Regions from separate parts of the Homo sapiens genome. Here regions 2, 3 and 4 are each linked to region 1. The links are contacts of gene promoters, found by promoter capture Hi-C in human tissues and cell types (Jung and others, 2019). All regions are on one chromosome and are shown on one strand. Each heading gives the region's core, a stretch centred on a gene start or on the middle of the fragment in contact. The rest is flanking DNA. Distances are from core to core; before and after follow the strand shown.

What was found. Contacts are between HindIII fragments. The study calls those that stand out against the background at their distance.
Region 2: a fragment that was not itself captured here is called in contact with the fragment with the promoter of CXCL3 in region 1 in 3 of the 25 tissues and cell types used here (adrenal gland, hippocampus and stomach).
Region 3: a contact is called between a fragment that was not itself captured here and the fragment with the promoter of CXCL3 in region 1, in 3 of the 25 tissues and cell types used here (H1 embryonic stem cells, ovary and thymus).
Region 4: a contact is called between a fragment that was not itself captured here and the fragment with the promoter of CXCL3 in region 1, in 2 of the 25 tissues and cell types used here (H1 embryonic stem cells and pancreas).

Annotation. Positions count from the first base shown.
Region 1 is chr4:74,037,025-74,040,221 of GRCh38, reverse strand. It overlaps CXCL3 (C-X-C motif chemokine ligand 3), which reads left to right and starts at 1,533. Exons shown (of 4, transcript NM_002090.3): 1 at 1,533-1,710; 2 at 1,809-1,932; 3 at 2,046-2,129; 4 at 2,945-3,197. The coding sequence starts at 1,611. The coding sequence ends at 2,960. It overlaps LOC105377275 (a long non-coding RNA gene), which reads right to left and starts at 1,277. Exons shown (of 2, transcript XR_938875.3): 1 at 1-1,277. The HindIII fragment of the contact is 6,255 bases long and covers 1-2,525 here.
Region 2 is chr4:73,923,911-73,927,107 of GRCh38, reverse strand. No RefSeq gene overlaps it. Among named protein-coding and RNA genes, the nearest start is that of CXCL1, 56 kb to the right of the region's middle. The HindIII fragment of the contact is 9,274 bases long and covers 1-3,197 here.
Region 3 is chr4:74,116,787-74,119,983 of GRCh38, reverse strand. All of the region lies in intron 1 of LOC105377277 (a long non-coding RNA gene), which reads left to right. It also overlaps a transcript of MTHFD2L not described here. Among named protein-coding and RNA genes, the nearest start is that of CXCL2, 19 kb to the right of the region's middle. The HindIII fragment of the contact is 3,408 bases long and covers 1-3,197 here.
Region 4 is chr4:73,967,796-73,970,992 of GRCh38, reverse strand. No RefSeq gene overlaps it. Among named protein-coding and RNA genes, the nearest start is that of PF4, 13 kb to the left of the region's middle. RefSeq lists an enhancer at 2,614-3,115. The HindIII fragment of the contact is 4,172 bases long and covers 1-3,197 here.

The DNA.
Region 1 (3,197 bases), core at 284-2,783:
TATTTATTTAACAACCATTAATAAGGCACTTAATCCATGTTGTCTCTTACAAATGTTAACTCATTTCTCATAACCACCTTGGGCTAGGCACAGAGAGGCTTAACAACTTGCAAGTGATACTCTGCAACTAAATACAGGCAGCACAGTTGCACGCTCTGTGTTTGGTTAGGGGCAAGGACTCTTATCCCTTGAGCTGGGTTGTGTAGAGCCCTGTGCTTCAGGCAGATGCCATTCCTTTCTCCTCTCCTCCATCCTACTCCACGTCTCAAAGAGGTCTGAGACCAACTTGTAGAATCACACTTAAACCCTCTAAAACCTAATGACAAATCAAAATACATTATCTAAAACTAGAAAAAGGGACAAAGGTGTCAGGTTAAAAGACTGAAAATCCAGACGAGAAAAAAAAGTGCCCTGTTAATGTTTCCAGAGAAAGATCCCCCAGTGCTGAATACCAGAAAATTCTATAGTAAATGAAATGTGATTTTATGTGTGATCTGGTGTTTAAATGTCATCAGCAGGCAGCTGTTTGCTCCTTCAGTGGGAATGGTGTTTGCACACCAGGTACCTACTCTCTAGTGTCATTCGCAAAGACAGAACCAGAAACATTGAGCCCATGATCCTGCTGGACCCAGCCCCTCCACAGCTTCAGAGTGACAGCCAGTGTCATATTTCTAGATCAAATCTGAATCCCTCCCACTGGGAGAAGGTCTCCAGGGGATTTAGGAAGTTCCAACATTTCAGAGGGAGGAAGGACGTTATGCAGGATACAAAAGAAGAGGTCATGTTATACAGCCCTGGCTTCCACGGACACTAACACTGAATTCAAATTTTGACACTGATAATCTGTTGCCACCAAATGGAAAACGTAAACAAGGTATTCTAAGTGTGATTAGAGAATATGCAAAACAAGGAACAAGTAGAACATTCTTCTCTGGAATCCGAGACGATGGCTGTACTTTCACAGAGAGCATGATGTTAGATGTACATGAAATAACGCTAAACCGAAAATGAGAGAGGCAGAGACCGGGAGGTTAACATAGAGGATAGACTATATAGAGAGAGGATAGCTGAGGGAAAACTCGCCTGTCTCCGGGTCCCCAGCAAATCTGATAACTAAGGAGACAAAGCTCTCTTCCTCTAAAGAAGTCGTGCCTTTCCTGTCCTGGTTCTCACGGGTCCCCCCAGCTCTTTCCTCCAACCCTACCCCGTACGCGGGGGGTCATCGGGGACCTAAGGTCCCCCCTCACAGGCTGTATCTTCAGCGAGGTGGACTCACTGCCTCTCCAGGAATTTGGGGCAGAAAATGAATATCCCAAAGTCCCAGAGTGCACGGGGGTTACTCTGGAGGGCGAGGCGTAGGCGTCACCAGTGGGCTCCCCCTACCCGTATCCGACTCCACCCCGGGGGCGGGGCCGTCGCCTTCCTTCGGGACTCCGGATCGATCTGGAGCTCCGGGAATTTCCCTGGCCCGGCCGCTCCGGGCTTTCCAGTCTCAACCATGCATAAAAAGGGTTCGCCGATCTTGGGGAGCCACACAGCCCGGGTCGCAGGCACCTCCCCGCCAGCTCTCCCGCTTCTCGCACAGCTTCCCGACGCGTCTGCTGAGCCCCATGGCCCACGCCACGCTCTCCGCCGCCCCCAGCAATCCCCGGCTCCTGCGGGTGGCGCTGCTGCTCCTGCTCCTGGTGGCCGCCAGCCGGCGCGCAGCAGGTGGGTCCCGGCGCCCTGGGGTCCCCGGGCCGGACGCGGCTGGGGTGGGCGCCCCGCGCCGACAGCCCCGCTCAATCAGCGAGTCTATTCTTCCCTAGGAGCGTCCGTGGTCACTGAACTGCGCTGCCAGTGCTTGCAGACACTGCAGGGAATTCACCTCAAGAACATCCAAAGTGTGAATGTAAGGTCCCCCGGACCCCACTGCGCCCAAACCGAAGTCATGTAAGTCCCGCCCCGCGCTTCCGCTGCCACCGCTGGGGTCCCCGACTCTCCCGCTGCCCCAACCCTGTCCCCAGCCCGACCTCCTGTCTCACGGAATTCCCTTCTCTCTGCAGAGCCACACTCAAGAATGGGAAGAAAGCTTGTCTCAACCCCGCATCCCCCATGGTTCAGAAAATCATCGAAAAGATACTGAACAAGTGAGTTGTAATTTCCATATACACAGGCGACTGGAGCCGTTGGTCAGAAATACTGGCATCTGCCCCCTAAAAATAAAATCAGGGAACCCCAAGAGTTAGCTGAAGGACTAGAAATTGTGATTATTATTTTCACAATTAAAGTTGCCATTAAGGTTATTAATCTGCTCTGGTGCCAGAGGATATTTCAGTATTTCAGTGTCTTCCATTTCCAGGCCTAACCCCTGGGAGGGTAAATGTGGGTTTCTAGAATACTAAGTAAATTTGACTAACAATGCCAAAATGCCCCCTGCCTGTTTTGGGACGTTTACCTCAGTCCCTAATGGGCTTCAGACCTGAAAAATGCAATGTCTGGTTTGGGCACTTTGGGCCTGTAAGCCTTCTTGGTGAAGAGCAGAAACTTTGCAGTAACACCTTCAGTGAGTTCAAGGCTAGGATCCCTGTCAACGTTATTTAATCTCTTTGAGCTTTAGCAAAATAGGGTAGATAATGGTAGTTATTTCATAGGGTTGTGTGCAGCTTAAGGGAGATCATGAATGGACATTTCTAACCCAATGTGACAATCAGTGACCAATATGTTTTGGCTTTTTCAAACCAAGAATCTAGTTGAGTCCACAGCCACTTCTTTCTTGAAAAAAAAAAAAAAAGCATTCAGGAGTGCAAGTTTTCTGCTATAGAAGGCAGTGGGTACAGACAGACCTTCCCTGAGTGGAGGGCTGGGAGAGAGTCTGCATGGGGACATCCCTCCAAGCAACTTCAGAGTGACAGAAGAGCAGCCTTCCTTAGCACCTGCAACAGTAACCCTTTTCTCATCACAGGGGGAGCACCAACTGACAGGAGAGAAGTAAGAAGCTTATCAGCGTATCATTGACACTTCCTGCAGGGTGGTCCCTGCCCTTACCAGAGCTGAAAATGAAAAAGAGAACAGCAGCTTTCTAGGGACAGCTGGAAAGGACTTAATGTGTTTGACTATTTCTTACGAGGGTTCTACTTATTTATGTATTTATTTTTGAAAGCTTGTATTTTAATATTTTACATGCTGTTATTTAAAGATGTGAGTGTGTTTCATCA
Region 2 (3,197 bases), core at 268-2,767, 110 kb after region 1:
TATTCTCTGATAGTTGTTTGTATTTCTGGGAGGTCAGTGGTAATATCCCCTTTGTCATTTCTGACTGTGGGTATTTGAATCTTCCCTCTTTTCTTCTTTATTAGTCTAGCTAGCAGTCTATATACTTTATTAATTTTGTCAAAAAATACAGCTTCTGGATTTGTTGATCTTCTGAATGGTTTTTCATGCCTCAATCTCCTTCAGTTCAGCTCTGATTTTGGTTATTTTTTGTCTTCTGCTAGCTTTGGGACTGATTTACATTTGGTTCTCTAGGTTTTTTAGTTGTGATTTTAGGTTGCTAACTTGAGATCTTTCTAACTTTTTGATGTGGGCATTTGGTGCTGTTACTTTCCCTCTTAACACTGCCTTAGCTGTGTCCCAGACATTCTGATTTGTTGAATCTTTGTTCGCAGTAGTTTCAATGAATTTCTTGATTTCTGTCTTAATTTTACAATTTACTCAAAAGTCATTCAGGGGCACGTTTTTCATTTTCCTTGTAATCGTTATGAGTGAATTTCTTAGTCTTGATTTCTAATTTAATTGTGTTGTGTTCTGAGTGACTCTTTGTTATGACTTCAGTTCTTACTTCCAATTATCTGATCAGTTTTACAGTATGTGCCACGTGGCAATGAGAAAAATGTATATTCTGTTGCTTTGGGGTGGACAGTTCTGTAGGTATCTATCAGGTCCATTTGATTCAGTGCTGGGTTTAGGTCCTGAATAGCTTTGCTAATTTTTTCTCAATGATCTGTCTAATATTGTCAGTGGAGTATTAACGTCTCCCACTATTATTGTGTGGAAGTCTAAGTCTCTTTGAAGGTCTCTAACAACTTGCTTTATGAGTCTGGGTGCTCTTGTGTTCAGTGCATCTATCTTTAGAATAGTTATATCTACTTGTTAAATTGAACCCTTTACTATTTTGTAATGCCCTTGTCTTTTTTGACCTTTGTTGGTTTAAAGTCTGTTTTATCAGAAACTAGGATTGCAACCCCTGCTTTTTTCTGTTTTCCATTTGCTTGGCAGATTTTTCCTCTATGCCTTTATTTTGAGCCTATGTGTGTTATCAGATGTGAGATCAGTCTCTTGAAGATAGCATACCAAAAGGTCTTGGTTCTTTATCCAGTTTGCCACTCTGTGTCTTTTAATTGGGACATTTAGACAATTTATATTTAAGGTTAGTATTGATATGTTTGGATTTGATCCTGTCATCATGATGTTAGCTGGTTATTTTGCAGACTTATTTATGTGGTTGCTTTATAGAAAATGCCTCAGCATTTGCTTGTCTGAAAAAGACATTATTTCTCTTTTGCTTATGAAGCTTAGTTTGGCTGGATATGAATTTCTGGGTTAGAATTTCTTTTCTTTAAAAGTGTTGATTATTGCCCCCCAATCTTATTCACTGCAAAGTGATTCCATTAAAACACAAACCTAATTAGGTTACCTTTCTGCCTTGGGAGTCTTCAATGGTTCTGTATCATCTACAGCAAATACCACTGGGCATGAGTAACGTATTAGTTTGCTTGATAACAAAGTACCACACACTGAGTGACTTAAAAACATAAATTTATTTTCATACAATTCTGGAGGCTAGAAGTCAAAGATCAAGGTGTCAGCTGAGTTTTTTTTTCCCAAACATTTCTAGACATTAAGAGAGTATATACATGGTTATAAAAAGTCACTTAGTCTGGAGTATATTGAAATCAAATTTATTTGTATATGATAGATTCAAAATATGTAATATATAAAATATCATAAATAAGTCCAAGAAGAAATATATAAATATTTCATTAGAAAATTTTAACATATATTTTTAAATAATTGATAATTTATGCAGAAAAGACATTAAGATACAGACTATTAAAAAGCACAATTAATACATTCCATGCAATGGATATATCTGTATATATGTTTTTACATATATATCGATATATATGTATATATGTATATACATGTATCGATACATATACACATATATATCGATATATATACACATATACATATATATGTAAAAACATATATACATGATATATATATCAATATATGTAAAAACATATATACATGATATATATATCAATATATACATATCCATTGCATGAAATGTATTAATTGTGCTTTTTATGTATATGTATGTATATTAATATATATCTCCACATACTCAATTTTCAATAGCTACAGAGTATATTCTTTTCTTAAAAAAGCCCACTTTATTGAGGTGTAACTGATATACAAAAAGAAAAATAACAAACAGTTAAGGAGGAAATTTTTGGAAGTAATGGATAGGTTCATGGCAAAGATTATGGTGATAGTTTCAGAGAACATAGTATTTTCAAGAAGACATGGACCATTTATGAAAGCTGACCACATATTTAGATAGAAGGCAAGACTCAAAAATACTTTTCGATGTTTGTTGTGATACACACAATGATCTGTGATTATTGTGTGAATAAGTTAGGTATCAACCACAAAACTGTACTTTAGAAAAAAACTCAACAATACTGAAAGCAACATATATTTGGAAATTAATAAAATCACTTCTAAATAACTCAAAAATCAGAAAATCAGAAAATACATAAAAACTTATTAGAAAATATATAGAATCAACTGATAATTTTGCCGTATGTTGAACACATGAGACCTAGGTAATGTAGGGACATTTACAGCTTTAAAATGCTATGCTAGAAAATGAACTTAAAATATCTAAATTAAATAAAAAGACAAAGAGAAGGAACTAGATATAAGAGTAGAAATTTATGAAATTGGAAACACACATTCAATAGAAAGGATCACCAAAACCAAGAGTTGGTTGTTGAATAGATTTTGGTGTGATTGGTCAAGACTGCAGACATTACAAAGTTAACAAGAAGATGTTATCATTTGGTGGCGATTAATGTGAAAATAGGTAAAATGGACAAATTTGTAGAAACATATAACAGTAAATTAAAGAGGAAATATTATATTTAAATAAACCTGTAACCTTTAATAAAGTTGAATTAATACTTACAATATTTCCTACCCAAGAAATGCACAAAACCAGCCATTTTTAATAGGGAAGTCTACCAAATATTCAGGAAAAAAAATTCAAACTTACAGAAATTATTTCACAGTGTCAAAATTTAGATCCCTTTCTGACTTACTACATAAGGCTGACATATTCCTGATAATAAAACCTGACAAGAGCTATTTCTGAAAGGAATTTT
Region 3 (3,197 bases), core at 279-2,778, 80 kb before region 1:
TTTTGAAAAACTCCAAAGTCTTGTTTAACACAGGGTGCTTGGTTTCCATGCAGTGAAGCAGTTCTGAAGGTTTCATGGCTTCATTGCATAGCCAACCACCACATATTATAAAAAGAGGGCTTGGAGAATGTGAATTATCTGGTGCAATGACCCTGTAATTTAAGTAGGACTCATGGTATTTTGTTTTTTTTGTTTTTTTTTGAGATGGAGTCTCGCTCTGTCACCCAGGCTGGAGTGCAGTGGCACGATCTCGGCTCACTGGAAGCTCTGCCTCTCAGGTTCACGCCATTCTCCTGCTTCAGCCTCCTGAGTAGCTGGGACTACAGACACCCGCCACCATGCCCGGCTAATTTTTTGTATTTTTAGTAGAGACGGGGTTTCACCTTGTTAGCCAGGATGGTCTCAATCTCCTGACCTCGTGATCCGCCCGCCTCGGCCTCCCAAAGTCCTGGGATTACAGGCATGAGCCACCGCGCCCGGCCAGTATTTTCTTTTAAATGCAGCTTTCTTTTTGTTGGCAGTCTTAGAGTCTTCTGCTGTCTCATCATTGGTTCTTTCCCACTTTTCAAAGAAACTCTCCAGTGATGATTGTTTTTATTCATTTTGGCTAGGGTTAGCTTGTGGGCTTACCAAAACTGATTGAGACAAGTGTGCAGTGCAGGAAAGAGGTGCGGATGGAAGTGACAAATAAAATAATGGGCAGGACACACATGGACTAAAATAAGTGTCAGATTCTGACTTAAAGCCTGCCACCAGATGCAGCTGTACAGTTGAAGTACATCAACTCACTTGCCACTATAAAGCCAGCAACCAGATGCAGCTGTACAGTTGAAGTACATCAACGCACTTGCCACTATAAAGCCAGCCACCAGATGCAGCTGAATTATCACCTGCCACTCACTGACAGGGTTTTGATATGCGTCTGCAGGCAACTGATTTATTATGGTCTCTGGGCAGTCAAACCTCTCTGCTAATGTTAATCTGTGTTTGCAACCACTCCTCAGAGCTAGCATCACCACCTCAGCTCCACCTCAGATCATCAGGCATTAGACTTTATAAGGAGCATGCAATCTAGATCCCTCTCATGCGCAGTTCACAATAGGGTGTGCACTCCTATGAGAATCTAATGCCACCACTGATCCGACAGGAGGCAGAGCTCAGGAGGTAATGTGAGCAATGGGGAGCGGCTATAAATACAGATGAAGCTTTGCTCCCTTGCCTTTGGCTCACCTCCTGCTGTGTGGCATGGTTCCTAACAAGCCATGGACCACTGTCAGTTCTTGGCTCAGGGTTTGGGGATCCCTGCTCACATGACCTTTTCTCTGTGTGGTTGCATCTCTGGTGTCTTCTCCTCTTCTTATAATGACACCAGTCATCTTAGATTAAGACCAATCCACATGATCTCATTTAATCTTAACTACCTCTTTAAAGGCCCTATTTCTAAATACAGTTATATTCTGAGGTGTACTGAGAGTTCAGACTTTAACACATTTACAGGGAATGCAATTCAGTCCATAATACTTAATGAAATGCCTTTGCTCTGTTTCTACTGATATTTATTTTGTTTTATAAGAAAAGTTTCAGTTCCTGGTATACTGTGCACTGTTGAAGAGCCTTTGCAGTAATTACAATTAAAAAGTACTTTATTTTTATCTGGCACCAATGAACAGCTGAGGCCTATGTATTTTTTCGTGTGAATCAGGAGAGGACAAAAGAGGGTTAAAATCTGTATTAATGTGCTCACTAGACAAGAAAAGCAAACTTTTATTCTATAAGTGTTTAGTTTTTGATATCTTTAACTTTTGATATTTTACTAAGCTTAATTATTTGTTCATTAACTTAATAATGTTATTTAATAGAATCAGTGTTATTCATAATTTCATAAATACTTTTTCAACACCCTATGTACCAAGCACGGTTGTAGGAGTTGTAAGTACAACAGTAAATAGGATATATGGGAAAGATATATAAGAAAGATATATAAATAAGATATCTCTTCCCTTATAGGTCTTTCAGTCTAGTGAGGATATGAAGTGGCAAGTAAAATGTAGTCAGCAGAGTATTATATCATCGATAAGTACAGAGTTCATGGAAGCAAATGGACAGGACTTTGCATCTGTTTGGTGGGAATTGATATAGAGACTGAGAATTAGGGTTGAGCATAGAGTTCTTAAGACAAAAGTGATGGGTGAAAAGAAGAGGTGACAGTCCTCAGAACCACAGAGTGTTTACATCTGTGTGCTCTCTCCTTTAGAAACCCTGGGCCTGCTGCGGAAGCAGCTCTCATGAGGGAAGTTGCTGCATGGACTTTCAGGCCACTGAGTGACTCTTCTTGCAAAGAAATGACCCCAAATGTTTGAACCTTTGAACATGTGCTCAGGGAAGCTATTGATCTATATATAGATCCTGCATATAACCTATGCATTCTTTAAAATTCAATCCAAGCAGCAGCCCTACTTGAACGCTTCCTGAAAGATCATTCTTTCACCCTCCACCTCCCTGTACAGATTAAGATCTGAAGGTTTGTTCTCCAGGCCTGGGAACATTTCTGTACCCTGCAGCCTGAAAACCCACTGTACCTTTTCTTAACTGACTTCCTGGTTGATTTCCTCTTAACAATAGTAGCTGAATCTGAATCCCAGGAACCTCACACATAGTAAACACTCAAGAAAAATCTGCTAAACAGTGTTAGTCTTTCACAGTCATTCTGGGTCAGCAGCCAAAAGATTCTGTGTCCGAGGCCAGGTTCCTTCTGTTGGCTCCATTCTAAGCTCAGCATGCCATGACTCACTGTTTCCTAGACAATGTCATTTGTTGTCATGGCTATGAAGCCCCGTCCACTTGTGGACTTTCCCAAGGACTTCAGAATCTCCCTTTAAAATCCCTTTCTCCAAGCATTTCCATCACAGAGGCCTCAAGATCAAAGGAGTTATAGAATATTGTTACCCTGAGGATAAATCAGCTATTGCCAAACATTTCCCACATGAACTTTGCTTTCAGCATCTACAAAAGAGAAAACGATATGTGGTTTACTTTATAAACTTGGTGAAATAAAACCTAACAAGCTAATTTTAATGTAGCAGACATGAGTGTCATTTAAGTGGAGAACCAGAAAGATAGAACGGTATCTATATGCCTAGTGCAAACTACCACTTTAGTGTCAAGGAAAGAAAAATCTCTTTGAACCAAAGCCAAGG
Region 4 (3,197 bases), core at 473-2,972, 69 kb after region 1:
GTCTGTGTACTTAAGTGTGTTTTTGTAGTGGCTAGTAAGAGTATTTTCTTTCCATATTTAGAGCATCTTTCAGGACCTCTTCTAAGGCAGGCCTGGTGGTAATGAATTTCCTCAACATTGCTTCTCTGAAAAGGATTCTATTTCTCCTTCACTTATGAAGATTATTTTAGTTGGATATGAAATTCTTGGTTGGAAATTTTTTCTTTAAGAATGTTGAATATAGGTTCCCAATCTCTTCTGGCTTGTAGAGTTTCTGCTGAAAGGTCCACTGTTAGCCTGATGGAGTTCTCTTTGTAGGTGACCGTACCTTTCTCTCTATCTGCCTTTGACATTTTTTTCTTTTATTTTGATACTAGAGAATCTCAAGATTATGTGTTTTCCAAGTTGCTTGCTTTCTCTCTGGCTCTTTCAGGGACACCAATAAGTCATAGATTTGGTCTCTTCATATTATTCTATGTTGCTCTGATATTTTGTTCATTCTTTTTTATTGTTTTTGCTTTATTTCTGGCTGACTGAGTTATTTCAGAGTCAACCTGCAAGCTCTGAGATTTTTTTCCTCCACTTGATCTATTCTGCTGCTAATACTTGTGACTGTATTACAAAATTCTTGTAGTGTATTTTTCAGCTCTATCAGATGTTTTTTAAAAATATGATTTAATCTATTAGCTCCTGTATTATTTTATTGTGATTGTTAGATTTTTTGTATTGAATTATTTAATGGTCTCCCAAATCTCGATGATCTTCATTCCTATCCATAATCTGAATTCTATTTTTGTCATTTCAGCTATTTCAGCCCAGTTAAGAATCCTTGCTCAGAAACTAGTATAGCCATTTTCAGGGAATAAGACACTCTGGCTTTGTGATTTGCTAGAGTTCTTTTATTTGTTCTTTCTCATCTGTGTGGATGGGTTTACCTTTAACTGTGGTATAAATTGAAGACCACCAGTAGACTTCTTTTTTAGATGCTTTCAGAGGGCCAAAGCTTTTTGCAGGGTCCTTATTTTTAGCTGAATTCTTGTCATTGATATCACAGAAGGGTATATTAACAAATTATTTTTGGTGTTGAAATTTTGGGCTGCAATCCAGTAGGTGGTACTTAAGTGTAATGGCCAGTAGGCAAGCTTTTGCTCAGTCACATGGCTTCTCTGTATTTCTTCATGACTATAGCCATGCTCCTTCTCAGCACTCTGAAAGTAAGAGTTCCTCTCTCACTTCAGTGCTGGCTGAAGATGTCAATTTAACACTGCTGGGCTGTGTATCTCAGCTCTGGGGCAATGTCAGGCTTTATGTTCCCTCCCAAGCTTAGAGGTAACAGGGGAAAGGAACTTTGCAGTGGTTGTGATAGAGAGTCTTTCACTTATCTTTTGGGGCTCCATCTTGAGAGGTGTGGAGCTGCTATCAGTCAGTGTGATCAACTTGGGTTGCGGCAGCTGTCCTGTGAGCCCAAGCCAGGGAGGCATACCTTGTGACAAGTGAGTGGCGGGGAAAGAGGGCAGACAGACCAGTAACCTCTCCATAGGGCAATTAATGCTTGCTCAAGGTGCAGTTGAAGCACTAAGGGTCTTTGCTCATTCCCCAGGGCAAGGGCAGAAAGGGCAGTACCACTGCAGTGGCAGTGGTAGAGGGGTTTTCAGTAGCCTCTGGGAACTCTACCTCTGAGAACCATATAGCCACAGTTCCTGGGAATGTTCAGCCAGGGGTTGAGGTGGCTGCACTGGTAGCCTGAGCTGAGGACCCCTCCTAGTTGGGGACTTGGGGGTTGAGGGTTTACAGGGAGGAGAGACTGGCTTCCTCTCTGTATAGTGACTATGGTGTGCTGTAAGCTTGGGTGAAGCCCTCAGGCTCAGTTTCTTCCCCAGCCTGTGAACAGAAGAGACAGAACATTGTTGTGACAGTGGCAGAAAGGAACATTGATTGCCTCTTGGAGCCCCTTCCCAGGAAATTCAGAGCCACTACCAGTGGGTATTCTCAGCTGTTTGTGGGGCATCTAAACTGTGGACCTGAGCAGGGGCCCTGCCTGCTGAAGAGTGGGTGCTGGGGGCTCACAGGGAAGGTAGACTGAACTCCTCTCTGTATGGTGGCTGTGGAGTGCTTGGGTGCCAGTGAAGTGACTAGGCCCTTTGTTCCTTCCTCAGCCGAAAGGTGGTTAGGGCAGTACTACTGCAGCTGCAATGGCCAAGAGGTTGTGGGTTGACTCTGAGATTTCCTCCTCAGAGAAATGCTGAGCTGCCCCCAACTGAAGTGTTCAAGTGGGGGCAGGGTGGTTGTGCTGGAGTCCAAGGTTAGGAGGCCTCACCAACTAAGGAGAAGTTGGGATGAGAACCTGCATGTAAAACAGTCTGGCCACTTTTTGATGAAGCAGCTGCACTGTGCTAGGGTTACATGTTAGTCCCTCGTCACCACATACTCTCCAGAGCCTGAAGGCAACAATAGTGAGGGCTGTGAGAAAGCAAAGATGGCAGCCTACCACTCCCTTTAGGGGCTCTGTGTCATGGAAATGCAGAGCTGCTACCAACCTGAGAGCCCTGATGGGAAGTGGTTGGAGTCCCAGGTTGGGAGCTCCCATCCACTGAGGAGAAATGTGGGATCCACATAAAAAAAAGAGTCTGGCCATTTTTCTGTGGGACAGCTGTGCTGTGCTGGGGGTTTGTGCCAGTCCCTAGTCACTGTAGGCTCTCCAGAGCCTGAAGGCAACAACAGTGAGGGCTGCAAGGCAGGAAAGTTGCTGCCCCCTTGCCCTGGAGATCTGTCCTGGGGAAGTGCAGAGCTGCTACTAGCCTCATAACCCCAGTGGTGGGAGGCTGGAGTCCTAGACCAATGGGTCTCATCCTGTGAGGTGCAGTGTAAGTGAAGCCTGTAGACAGTTGCTGCTCAACCCCCTGGATTTGGCTCCTTTCCTGGATGTGTGTAAAGGAGACTAACTTCCCCCTTTGCCAGAGCTGAAGCCACTAATGCTGGAATGCCTGGGGATCAAAGGCTTTTGGGACTTTGGCTATGCCTCAGCAGTGGCTCTGCTGAGACTCCCATAGCTTTGCATATCAGTCTGAAGGTTTTTGTGGGATGAGCTCACAAGGGCATCTCCTGAGACCAGGGCTTGCAAAGATCTATGGACCAAGTGTGTGTCCCAGGGTTTCTCATTCTCTCACCATTTCCCAGTGGTCGGGGAGCCTCCTCTGGCTCCATGCCACTGTCAGGTA